Regions from separate parts of the Homo sapiens genome. Here all the other regions are linked to region 3. The links are contacts of gene promoters, found by promoter capture Hi-C in human tissues and cell types (Jung and others, 2019). All regions are on one chromosome and are shown on one strand. The core of a region is centred on a gene start or on the middle of the fragment in contact, and the rest is flanking DNA. Distances in the headings are between cores, read along the strand shown.

What was found. The method cuts DNA at HindIII sites, captures the fragments that hold promoters and counts their contacts. A contact is called where the count stands out against the background at its distance.
Region 1: a fragment that was not itself captured here is called in contact with the fragment with the promoter of PRF1 in region 3 in 1 of the 25 tissues and cell types used here (adrenal gland).
Region 2: a fragment that was not itself captured here is called in contact with the fragment with the promoter of PRF1 in region 3 in 2 of the 25 tissues and cell types used here (adrenal gland and heart left ventricle).

What each region holds. Positions count from the first base shown.
Region 1 is chr10:70,826,279-70,830,021 of GRCh38, forward strand. All of the region lies in intron 2 of SGPL1 (sphingosine-1-phosphate lyase 1), which reads left to right. Among named protein-coding and RNA genes, the nearest start is that of SGPL1, 12 kb to the left of the region's middle. The HindIII fragment of the contact is 4,688 bases long and covers 1-3,743 here.
Region 2 is chr10:70,805,259-70,809,088 of GRCh38, forward strand. No RefSeq gene overlaps it. Among named protein-coding and RNA genes, the nearest start is that of SGPL1, 8.8 kb to the right of the region's middle. The HindIII fragment of the contact is 4,615 bases long and covers 1-3,726 here.
Region 3 is chr10:70,601,136-70,604,565 of GRCh38, forward strand. PRF1 (perforin 1) reads right to left here and starts at 1,606. Exons shown (of 3, transcript NM_001083116.3): 1 at 1,510-1,606. The HindIII fragment of the contact is 18,183 bases long and covers 1-3,430 here.

The DNA of each region.
Region 1 (3,743 bases), core at 373-2,872, 230 kb after region 3:
ACAATTCCATTCCATTCCATTCATTCCCATTCCATTCCATGCCGATAAGGCCATTCCTGAGTCTTTGAGGTGCCAGGCTGCTTCTGTCTGTCATTCCGCTATCAGTAGTGCATCCCCTCCTGGGCCAGGGTAGCTGCCTGGGGTTCTACCTGTCAGGTTCATGTTTCATTCATGAAGAGGAAGAGGAAACGGAAAAAGAAGGGCTTGCCCTCCATTTTAATTAAAAATTATTTTGGAATTTATTATACGTGCAGAAGAGTATAGAAAGCACATATCTACATTTTAATGAACAATAATAAAACAACGATACCAGATTAGGATATAAACCATTTATCTCTAACTCTACGCTTCACCCTGTTACAAATATTTCCTTTCTTCCCCTCTATGGATAACCCCATCCTGACTTTTATAATTATTCCCTTGCCTTTTTAAAAATAGTTTTAACCACCTGTGTATGCATCCTAAGTTTAGTTTGTTTTTTTTTAAACTTGATGTAAATGGATGCATATGTATTTTTATTTTTGTGATTTTCCTGTGTTGCTCAGTATTCATGCGATCCATGTTATTGCATGTAGTTTAAGTTCATTCATTTTTATTGCTGTATATATAGTATTTTATTGTGTGACTAAACTGCAGTTATTTATCCATTTGACTTATAATTCACATTTGGGTTGTTTCCAATTTGAGGCTTTTTCAAACATTGCTGTTATGAGCGTTCTTATATAACAAGTGATCACAAGTGCAAGAGTTTTTCTGGGATTTGTGCCTAGGAGTGGAATTGCTGATTGTAAAGGCATACATGCCTAACTTCACTAGATATTGCTAAACTTTTCTGAAGAGGCCAATACAATTTATACCACTATCAACAATATATGAGAGTTATTTCCACCCAACTTGGCAAACCTGATATTTATAAAGCTTATTTTTTGACAATCTGGTAAGCAGATAAATGTAATTGTAATTTCCGTATGCATTTCCTGATAACTGATGTGGTTAAGTACCCTTTTCAATGTTTACCAACCACTTGGATTTTCTGTTTTGTGGCTGCCTCTTCAAGTCATATGCCTTATCAGTTATTTCTCCTTTTTAGTTCTATTATTAATAGATTTTGCTGTATATTTGCTGAGATTTTGTTACTAGGTGCATTCAGATTTAAAATTGTTACATCTTGTAAGTTGAGCTTTTCATATAATTTGCTTTTTGACATAATATAGCTACATCAGCTTTTTGTCATGAAATAGGAAACTTCAAATGTATGATAAATGAATGAGTTGCCTGTTAGTATAGGCAGAAACTGCAGAACAATCCTAGCCCATTATTCAGGCTTTATGTATCAGCGATTTGTTCTGTTATCCCATAAAGTGAATGAGTCATTTTTGAGTTTAAAAAAATCATAGGGCTTTTTTTTTGAGGTCCAATTTGCATACAGTAAAGGGCACAAATCTTAATTATCCAGGTCAGTAAATATTTATGTATGAATATACTTCCAGATCAAGATATTAAACATTTCCAGCACTCCAGCCAGCTTCTTAATGTCCCTCCCAGTTGATACCTACCAAAGGTTTTGCTTAGTTTTGCTGATTTTGAACTTTACATAAAGTGGAAACATACAGTATATTCTCTTTTGTGAGTGGCCTTTTTGCTCAACATTGTGTTTGTGAGATTCAGTCATGTTCTTAGGTAGCATTAGTTTTTCTTTCTTATTGCTGTGTAGTGTTACAATGTATAACTATATTATAACTAATTTGTTCTGTAGTTGTAGAACATTTATGTTTCTAGTTTTTTGGCTATTGTGAATGACACTGCTGCCTTCTTGAACATGTCTTGGTAAACATAAAATGTAGAGTTGCTGTGTGGTAACGTGTACTGCCAAACAGATTTCCAAAGTGGTTGTACTAATTTACGCTACCAGAGTTTTAATATATAACTTCTTGATTTAGCTTTGGGCAGCAAATGTTAAATTTCTGTCATCTGCATACCACACATGGAGAAGAGCACTGAGAACTCTTTCCTGAAGTTGTATAGGCACTTTTATTTTATTTTTTATTTTTATTTTTTTCGGAGACAGGGTTTCACCCTGTTGCCCAGGCAGGAGTGCGGTGGTGCGATCATGGCTTCCTGCAGCCTTGAACTCTGGGTCTCTAACCATCCTCATTGAGAAGCCTCGGCTTCCTAAAGTGCTGCGATTATGGGTGTGAGCCACTGTACCCAGCCTGTACAAGCAATTCTAAAATGTGAAATGCCCTTCCTTTTCTGTAATTTCCCCAGAGAGTAAAGCCTACTGCATTCTTGTTTATCTAGTCTGTAAATGTTAATACACAATTGATGGGAACAAAGCAACCTTAGTTCTTTTTGAGTATGAAAAGGACCCTGTTAAGGGCAGAATTTAAAATATTTGTAGTAGTTAATTCTCAGGTTAAAATCATAATCTTCTAGAATGCTTTAGATTCTAAGTGGCTATTGTAGTAACACTTTATACTCAATATTGGGGGACCATGTTTTTTGGAGGCTTTCACTGAAGCATTTAATTCCATTCTTTTGAATTCGTTTTGACAGATGGGTCTAAAAAGGAATAGATCAATTCTGTATTGAATTCCAGTCTTAATGGCACCGAGTCTTTGAGACAATTGAGGCAAATTGGAAATTCTGTTTTCACATTCTTCTGAAAGGGGATGCCTTTCAGAAGTGTCCTGAAGGGCGCTGGGGAGGGCAAATATGAGGATGCCAGGGTAAGTCTGCTCCCTGTCTGGCTGTGTTGGGCCAGAGTGGAAGAAAGCCTAAGACTCTGTTACCCAGCCCTTTCTGAAAATGTTTTCAAATGCTTTCCCAACAATCACGACCACAAGAGTCAACAGTCTGTTTGGATGACTGAAAACACACAGGTTTACGATCTGTAAAGATAGTAGGTAAGTGATTTAATCTTGTTGTATAGGTAGGCCAGAGGGCACTCGCAGCCTTCTGATTGATTTAATAGATTGTTGAAGATTAAGAGTTGACTTAACATCTCTCTTAGAAAACTGAGAAATAGCTCATTACTAAGGTGTGTTTTATTACCACCGTCTGTAAGAAAATACAACATAGGCATGGGAATCAAACTACTTAAAGCCTCTTCCAGCTCCTTTGTGACTGGGAAGGTTACTTTTCCTTGTTGCTTATTGAAGAGAAAAGGAAAATGTTTATCATTGGATAATTCAGGTTCACTGAATATTTAATGAGTGTTTATTATCTGCAGTCATTTTCTTATTACCTTATCTCATTTAATATTCACAACAACCCTGTGAGTGGACGATGGTATCTTTTTTTTTTCTCCTGAACGTTTTGTTGAATTATCCCAATGGCTTCTATTTTTGCAGATGAGCAGAGTCCAGTTGCATAGAGGTTTAGTGTTGTGCCACACATCACACAGCTTCTAAGTGAGAGCTAAAATTAGAGCCGAAGGTTTTGATTACCAGTCCAGACTTTCTAGGACACCACAGCTGCCTTTCTGTAGAACAGATTAACATGACTCTCAGAGTCCGCAAGAGTAGTGGTGAGGTGTCAGTTCAGGGGAATACTCAAAGGTCACTGTCCTTTTCAGATATCTGGGTAGTTGCTACAGTATGTGCTTAGGAATTGCTGGATAAAAAAATATTCTTTAAAATCTCATCATTTTAGTCGTTAATAATTTATTATTATAACTCGTAAAAATATACCTTTAGGCAAGTTATTCTTAGGTAGTTATGGTTGCTTTCATTTGGAGTCCA
Region 2 (3,830 bases), core at 169-2,668, 200 kb after region 3:
GCATGTTATGGAAACTCTAAGTTGTTCTAGATGGCTAGGGAGACTAGAAGACTCAGATTGTTAGAACAGACCAATTTATGCTTGTTGTCCCAGAAAACTTAATAATATGTCCTTAGTTTCAAAAGTATCCCAGATAGTCACTGTGAGTATAGTTGGGACATAAAGTCTGAGAGTGAGGTGGAAATGGGGGAGATGAAGGTGGAGAGAAGCAGCGGCTGATCGTAGAGGTCACTGTGGCCAAGTTCAAGAAAGGCATTCAGTTAACTGGGCTTCTTATGGTGTCTTTCCCTTCAAGGTTATCTTCTCCAGATATGATCTGATTCACAGATAGATCAATACAGCCACTGACAGATGATTATTGCTATGGGCTACCATTTACGGAGCGCTTACCAGGTAAGTGCTTTCCATGTAGGCTGGGGTGAGGCCCAGGTAACCTCTGCTGACTTAGTTATGCTTGTCCTTTAACTGATTCTCTGCCAGTAGGCCTTGGGTTTTGACTTGTTTTTACTGTTGTGAGGTCATGTCCTGAGACAACATTGGGCAAGTCCCAAAGGGCCTTCTGTTCCCAACTAGAAACTTTGTAAGCTTTCCCTGGAGGGGGACAGCTGAGGTCAGGAGATGGCTACTAGCTATAAACAGTTTGTTTTAAAGGACTTGTATGATGTCTGTATTGAAGGGATTCATATGAATATTCAAATGAAATGAGTTGAGTTTGTTCTAAGATGATGCAGTAGCTAGGAATGTTGAGTTAGATGTTTGGATGGGCAGCCAGGGCACATGGTTTAAACATTTGACGCACTTGAATTCAATGGATAGTGGATAGCAAGAGTGGGCATTTGAAATATGTCTGAGTGAGTGGTTTCCTCTGCAGCACCTCCTGCAACAGCTGTCCCTAAGTGGCAGGTGTGGGTTTATACCCTAAAACTGAATGTAGCAGTGCCCTCAAGCAGACCCACAAGGACTAGCTTGAGGCTGCTTTGTCTCCCAGAAAGACAGTTGGCAGCAGCTATTGGAGGGCTCTGCAGGCTTCCAAGTCCCCACCACTGCCCCAACACTTGGGTGGTCAGTGGGCACATGAGGCCACTGAGAATGGTCATGTCACCCTGCCCTTCCCATTCCTCCATTGCCAACCTACTGAGGTTTGGGGCTAGCGTGAGAATCTATTTGTGTTAGCTTGCTAATCAGGCTGTTGTAACAAAGTGCCACAAACTGGGTGGCTTGCACAACAGAAATGGATTGTCTCCCATTTCTGCAAGATAGAAGTCTGAGATCAAGGTGTTGGCAGGGCTGGTTCCTTCTGAGAGCTATGAGGAAAAACACGTTTCATGGCCCTCTCCTAGCTACTGGTGGTTTGTTGGCAACCTTTGATGGTCTTTGGCTTATAAAGTCATCACTCTGATTGCTACCTTCATTTTCACATGGTGCTCCCCCTCTATGCATGTCTGTCCAAATTGCCCCATTTTATAAGGACACCAGTCATATTAGGCTAGGGGTGCACCCTATTCCAGTAATACTTCATCTTAACTCATTACATCTGCCATGACCCTATTTTCCAGTAAGGCCATATTCACCACATGGATTGTTGGGGGACACAGTTCAACCCATAGCACTTAGGATAAATTGAAATAGCATCAGCATGAACACAATTACTCTACTGGTTACTTCTGCCAAACAACCTTCAAGTCAGAAAGAATCCTGTGGTTAAGGGAGAGGTACCGCAATCCAGCTGCAACAAGTTAAAGGTGTAGCCCACTAGCTATGGGTTAGTTTGCCCTGAGCTCTGAATGTGACTTCTTCCCTGGGAATCTTGGCTTGAGGGCACATGTGGGAGCCTGCTTGCCAGGCACAGGGTAGCCTGTGGCTTTGGGAGTCTTGTTTTAATCTGTTCTGTCACTTTCCAAAGGTCTGTCTTCTAAGCTTATGCCATTGTTGTACCCTAGAACCAACTATTTTCATTCTTTGCTGAGTACCTTTTCTGCCCATATGAATTCTCTCCTAGCCATTCTCCATACCACGCAGACGGATTGTTCTAAAACACAAATGTGATATTGTCAGTCCCTTGACTGAAAAGACCTCAACGGCTGTTGCTCTTTGGATGAAGATCAAAACACTGTTTCCTACAGGACTGGGAGGTCTCAGACAGGAGGATTGCCATCTGCATTTGCATTTATTTAAAAAACAATTGAACTGGTGACATTCTGTTTCTTGATCTGGGTGGTGCTGAACAATGGTGTTCACTATGTCAATATTCATCTAGCTCTACACTTTGATTTGTGGACTTGTCTGTACATACAATGTATCCCAATTTTAAAAAATCTTCAAAACAACTGAATGAGTTGCCCAAAGTTCTGGGAGTTCCTTGGTCGTATTACACTTTATGATCTTTTAGATCTCTTGACCAATACCATACAACTAGAGATTTTTTTCCCCCTTTCTATCTTGGGAGGAAAAAGATGGAATTAACAAACAGAGGTGATTCAGTGAGTTACATTGTGGTCACAAGATAAATTATGCACATTGCGACAAGAAAACCACATAGTCCTATAAAATTATGGGCTGTTTTTATCCAGAATTATGCTGGCTTTCTATTTCCTGTTGTTGATTAAGAATAAAGAGGGACCTGCCTGTTGCCCCTGCCTGCAGCGCCTAGAGGAGAGAGAGAAGTCATGATCAGCCTCATTTCTGCCCCAGGGACTGCATTATTCCCCTTTGAAGCAACAGTGCTTCCCCTAGAGCTTGGTCAAGGAGAGGGGCTGCAGGCAACCCCTGTGTCTGCCCCAAGAAAATGGGAGTTCTGAGCAACTTGGGTGTATGGAAAAAGGAAGCACTCTCCACAGATGGCTGAAAAGCATTGTTGGTAACATATGAAGCTTGAGTCTAGGGGTAAATGACAAGCCCTTTAAGTGGGCTCTGTTTCTTGGAGTGCTGAACTGTTCCCACTGTTTAACATAAAGAACCAAAGTAGCCCTTGCAAAGAGAGTGAGAATAATCTCTGACTCTGGCAGGCTCTTAGGACATCATAATTTTAAAATTGAGAGAATTTTTAAAAATCTAGATTTCTGTCTTTCCTTGGAAAATTGAGATGTTGAACTACCCTACTATGCTATTAAAATTGCCAGGTATGGTGGCTCATGACTGGGAGGCTGAGGCGGGTGGATCACCCAAGGTCAGGAATTCAAGACCAGCCTGGCCAATGTGGTAAAACCCCGTCTCTATTAAAAATACAAAAATAGCCAGGTGTGGTGATGTGCATCTCTAATCCCAGTTACTTGGGATTAGGGCAGGAGAATTGCTTGAATCTGGGAGGTGGAAGTTGCATGAGCCAAGATGGCGCCACTGCACTTTAGACTGGATGACAGAGCGAGACTCCATCTCAAAAAATAAATAAATAAATAAATAAATAAAATTGCAGTATCCATGACATCTTGTCCTAAACCCCATACTTTGTGCTTCCCTTACATTGCTTTGCTTCCTCTCTTTCCATAGCCCCAAGCATCTCCTAACTTACCATATAGTTTACTTATTTATTCTGTTTATTAGTCTGTCTCCTTCTGCTGGAATGTAAGTTGCATGAGGGCAGGGCCCTTTGTTTTGCTCAATGATCCATCCCAGGTCCTGAATATTGCAACCTGGCATTGAATAGTTGTATGCATGTTGAATGAATGTAGCCTGAAGCCTACATTCCCAATTTGTAGCAGTCACATTGCCTGCCTGGGCCCCTGAAGGCATGTGTATTTGCCATGCCTGCCCCTACTGACCTGCATGCCAGCTTCTGCCTTCCGTCCCCCTCAGGCTTGTTTCTCTGGCCACACTGGCCTGGCCTCTCCTGC
Region 3 (3,430 bases), core at 356-2,855:
GGGAGCCCCTTTTTAGAATTTCCCTAAGGCCTAATGGGGATCTAGGTGGATGGCTCTGTCCCCAGGACACAACTGTGGGTGGTGGGGAGGGGGCTGTGGCCACAGAAGAGGGGACAGAGTAGCTGTAGCAGGTTTAGGGAGGGGTCTGGGGACCTGAGGAAGCCTTCATTCTGAAGAAGTGTCATTTTTGGCCCCAGAACAAGCCACCCTTTGCCCACCCTGACTCTCACTCTGTTTCTTTGTCTCTGTCACTCTCTCTAACCTCTCTCCCTCCCACTGAGCCCTTAACAGAATTGGAAGAGAAATGAGGTCCTATATTGCACCTATTCTTCTCATTTTCCCTTTGGGGCTCTCCCTCTGAGCTTTATGGAATAACATCAGCCCGAATTCTAGAATAAAATCTGCCGACCTGGCCAGGTGTGGTGGCTCACACCTGTAAACCGAACACTGTGGGAGGCAGAGGCAGGTGGATCACTGGAGGTCAGAAGTTCGAGACCAGCCTGGCCAACGTGGTGAAACCCCCTCTTTACTAAAAATACAAAAATTAGCTGGGCATGGTGGCGGGTGCCTGTAATCCCAGCTACTTGGGAGGCTGAGACAGGAGAATCGCTTGAACCCAGGAGGCGGAGGTTGCAGTGAGCCAAGATCGTACCACTGCACTCCCGCCTGGGTGATAGAGTAAGACTCTGCCTCAAAAAAAAAAAAAAAAAGGGGCAGACCTGACCACACCCTTGGATTTTGTGTGGGGAGAGGCCTCGATGGTTGCTCTTCAGATCCTTTCTTGCTGCCCCTCCCCTCTTTGCCACTCCCTGCCAAGCTCTGTGGCCTTCGGCAGTGACAGGGGCCCCCCTATTGCCTACTATGGACAATGATTGTCTGGAAGGTTCTTCCTAATTTTAAGGTGTTTCTGGGGCCTTGCCTGGGCCTGTTTATGATCTGGAACCTCCTTTCTCTAACCTTACCCAAGCCTAACCTTATCCAAGCTGAGCTCTTCAAAGGCCTTTGCCCTTGGGTACCACAGGTTCTGAGACAAGAGGGCTATGGAGAGCCCCCATTATAGCTGGAGCCTCCTGCCCTGCCCAAAGGTGTGACTTGAAGGGTGGAATTTCAGGCAGCGTGGCTCGCCCCAGGGAGGCAAAGAGGCCAGGGGAATCTTCAAAGGCCCTGGGCTCATCCCAGCTAGGAGGCGGGCACAGTCATAACCCTAATCCAGTGAACTCAGCCCTCATCCTGACTCTCATGGTATTCTGTCCCAGGGAGCCTCTTTCCAGCTTTCTTAGAAGCTTTAATGTCAGCACTTGCAGGGCCTTAGAAACTGCACGCTACCTCTTCATTTCATACATGAGGAAACTGAGGCCCAGGGTGGACACAGGGCTGCCCAGCGAGTTAGTGATGGGCACCGTCTGTGACCCAGGTGTCTTGTCTTATAGGTCACAGCACTTCCTGCTCCATCAGCCTCTTCCCCTCCACCCAGGGCCCCAGGCCCCCCAATCCCTGCTCTCTCCTTACCTGGAATCCCGTATAGAGAAGCGGCTACACAGATGGATATCCTCTCTTCACCGAGGCTCCTGGAATGGTGGCATCAGCCCCCCAGGCAGCCCACTGTGGCTCCTTGCACCAGCCACCACTCACATCACTTCTACTTCCTGCCCCGCCCCCAGCTGTGGTCACAGGTCCTTTGTGCTCTCCCCTCCCACAAGCACCCACCCTGTCCTCAGCCCTCATCCGGCTCCCCACTGACAGCCCTCAGGAAGCGAGCAGCAGGGCCAGAGGCTCATCTGCCGAGTAGAGCTGCTGGGGCTCGGGGACTCAGGGCACACAGGCGGAGGAGGGCGGGGCGCTGAGGACTTTGAGACTCGGCCCTGGTGTTGATGAACAGGCCAGCAGGGCCATCTCCTTGCTTCTGATGCACAGCATCGCATGTGTGGGATGTAAGAGGCAAGCAGAGGCGGCGGCTCAGAGCATGGGCCTACACGCCAGACCGCCGGGGCTTGGGCAGCTCGGTTATGCACCAGCAGTGTGGACTGGTAGGGTTCTTCAGCCTCACTGTGCCTCAGTTTCTTCACTGAACAATTGGGATTGTAGGTCATGTAGACCCTAGGGGTTGTTGTGAAGTGCTTGGAACTGTGCCTGGCCCTTCTTGAGTGTCAGAGCCTGTGGCCATTCCCTCCTCCCTGAGTGGGAGAAGAGAGATGTTGCTCTAATCTTGCCATCCACTTCCTGCTCAACCTACATCCCACCCTAGCCCAGGCTCCGAACTCCAAGCATGTTCCTCGAACAGGGGCTCCTGCTCCTCGCTTTGTGAGGACAGCCAGTGGCCTCCACGCTGGCTCCAGCCCTGCTGAGGTCGTGGGTGCTGGTGAGAGTGGTCTGGTAGCACCGGAGGACATGTCTTCTGCACTCTGCCTTGCTTGAGGTCAGGGTGGGGTGAGGTTTCCATGGGTGGAGTGACTCACAGGGCACTGGGGGGCAAAATCACACGGCTTCTGGGGTGGGGGCAGCTGGGTAAGGGAGGAGGTGGTTCTCACAACTTGTTCTCATAACTGTGTATATGATGGGAAGAAGTGGCCGCAGGCTCCAGACCACATGTGACATCATGTCTCATGGGTCACACTTTGGGGCTCATCCCTTGCGTTTATGTCCCTGCTTCCGTCCCTGCTCTTACAGGAACAGGGGCTTATGCTGTCTTCTCGGAATCTGGCCCCATCTTCTCTCCGCAGTGTCCCCACCCTCTTCTAGAAACTGCAGCCTCCTGATCACTTTCCAGCTGTCACCCATGGCCTGACTTGGATGCTGAGGCTGTGAGGAGTTTCTTTCCTGACCATGACAGGAAGGCCGGTTTGAGGGACATAGAAGTCCTGCAAAGTATCTGCGGGAAAAGAGAGGCAAAGTCTAAACAGGTTCTGATCCCAGCTTCACCAGAAACTTACCGTATGCCTCACGGCGATAGATATCAACCCCCTTTCTGAGCGTTAGTTTCCTCACCTATAAAATCAAAGAGAGGACTTTGGAATTCTACACATCCTTCCAGCTAATGATAAAATGTACACTTGGCAGGTTTCAAGTGGCTTATGAAGTGGCTAATGCCCAAGAGATGCTAGTGGTTGTTAGGGGATCCATTAAAGAGCCGAAATGACATTGAGGGTGATGACTGTTTTTGACTCGTTTAACTGATGACAGCTGTCCTTCTGAAACTTGACACTTGAATGTGCATTAAGCAGAGTTTTTCCTCAGAGACACAAGTTTCAACAAGTGCGTAATTTGTTCAATCACCAGACACCATGTATATGGTTTTCTTTAGTAACAACAATCTTTAGATGTAATTCACATACCATATAATTCACCCATTTCAAGTATATGATTCAATGGCTTTAGTATGTTCACAGAGTTGTACAGCCACCGCTACAGTCAATTTTAGAACATCTTCATC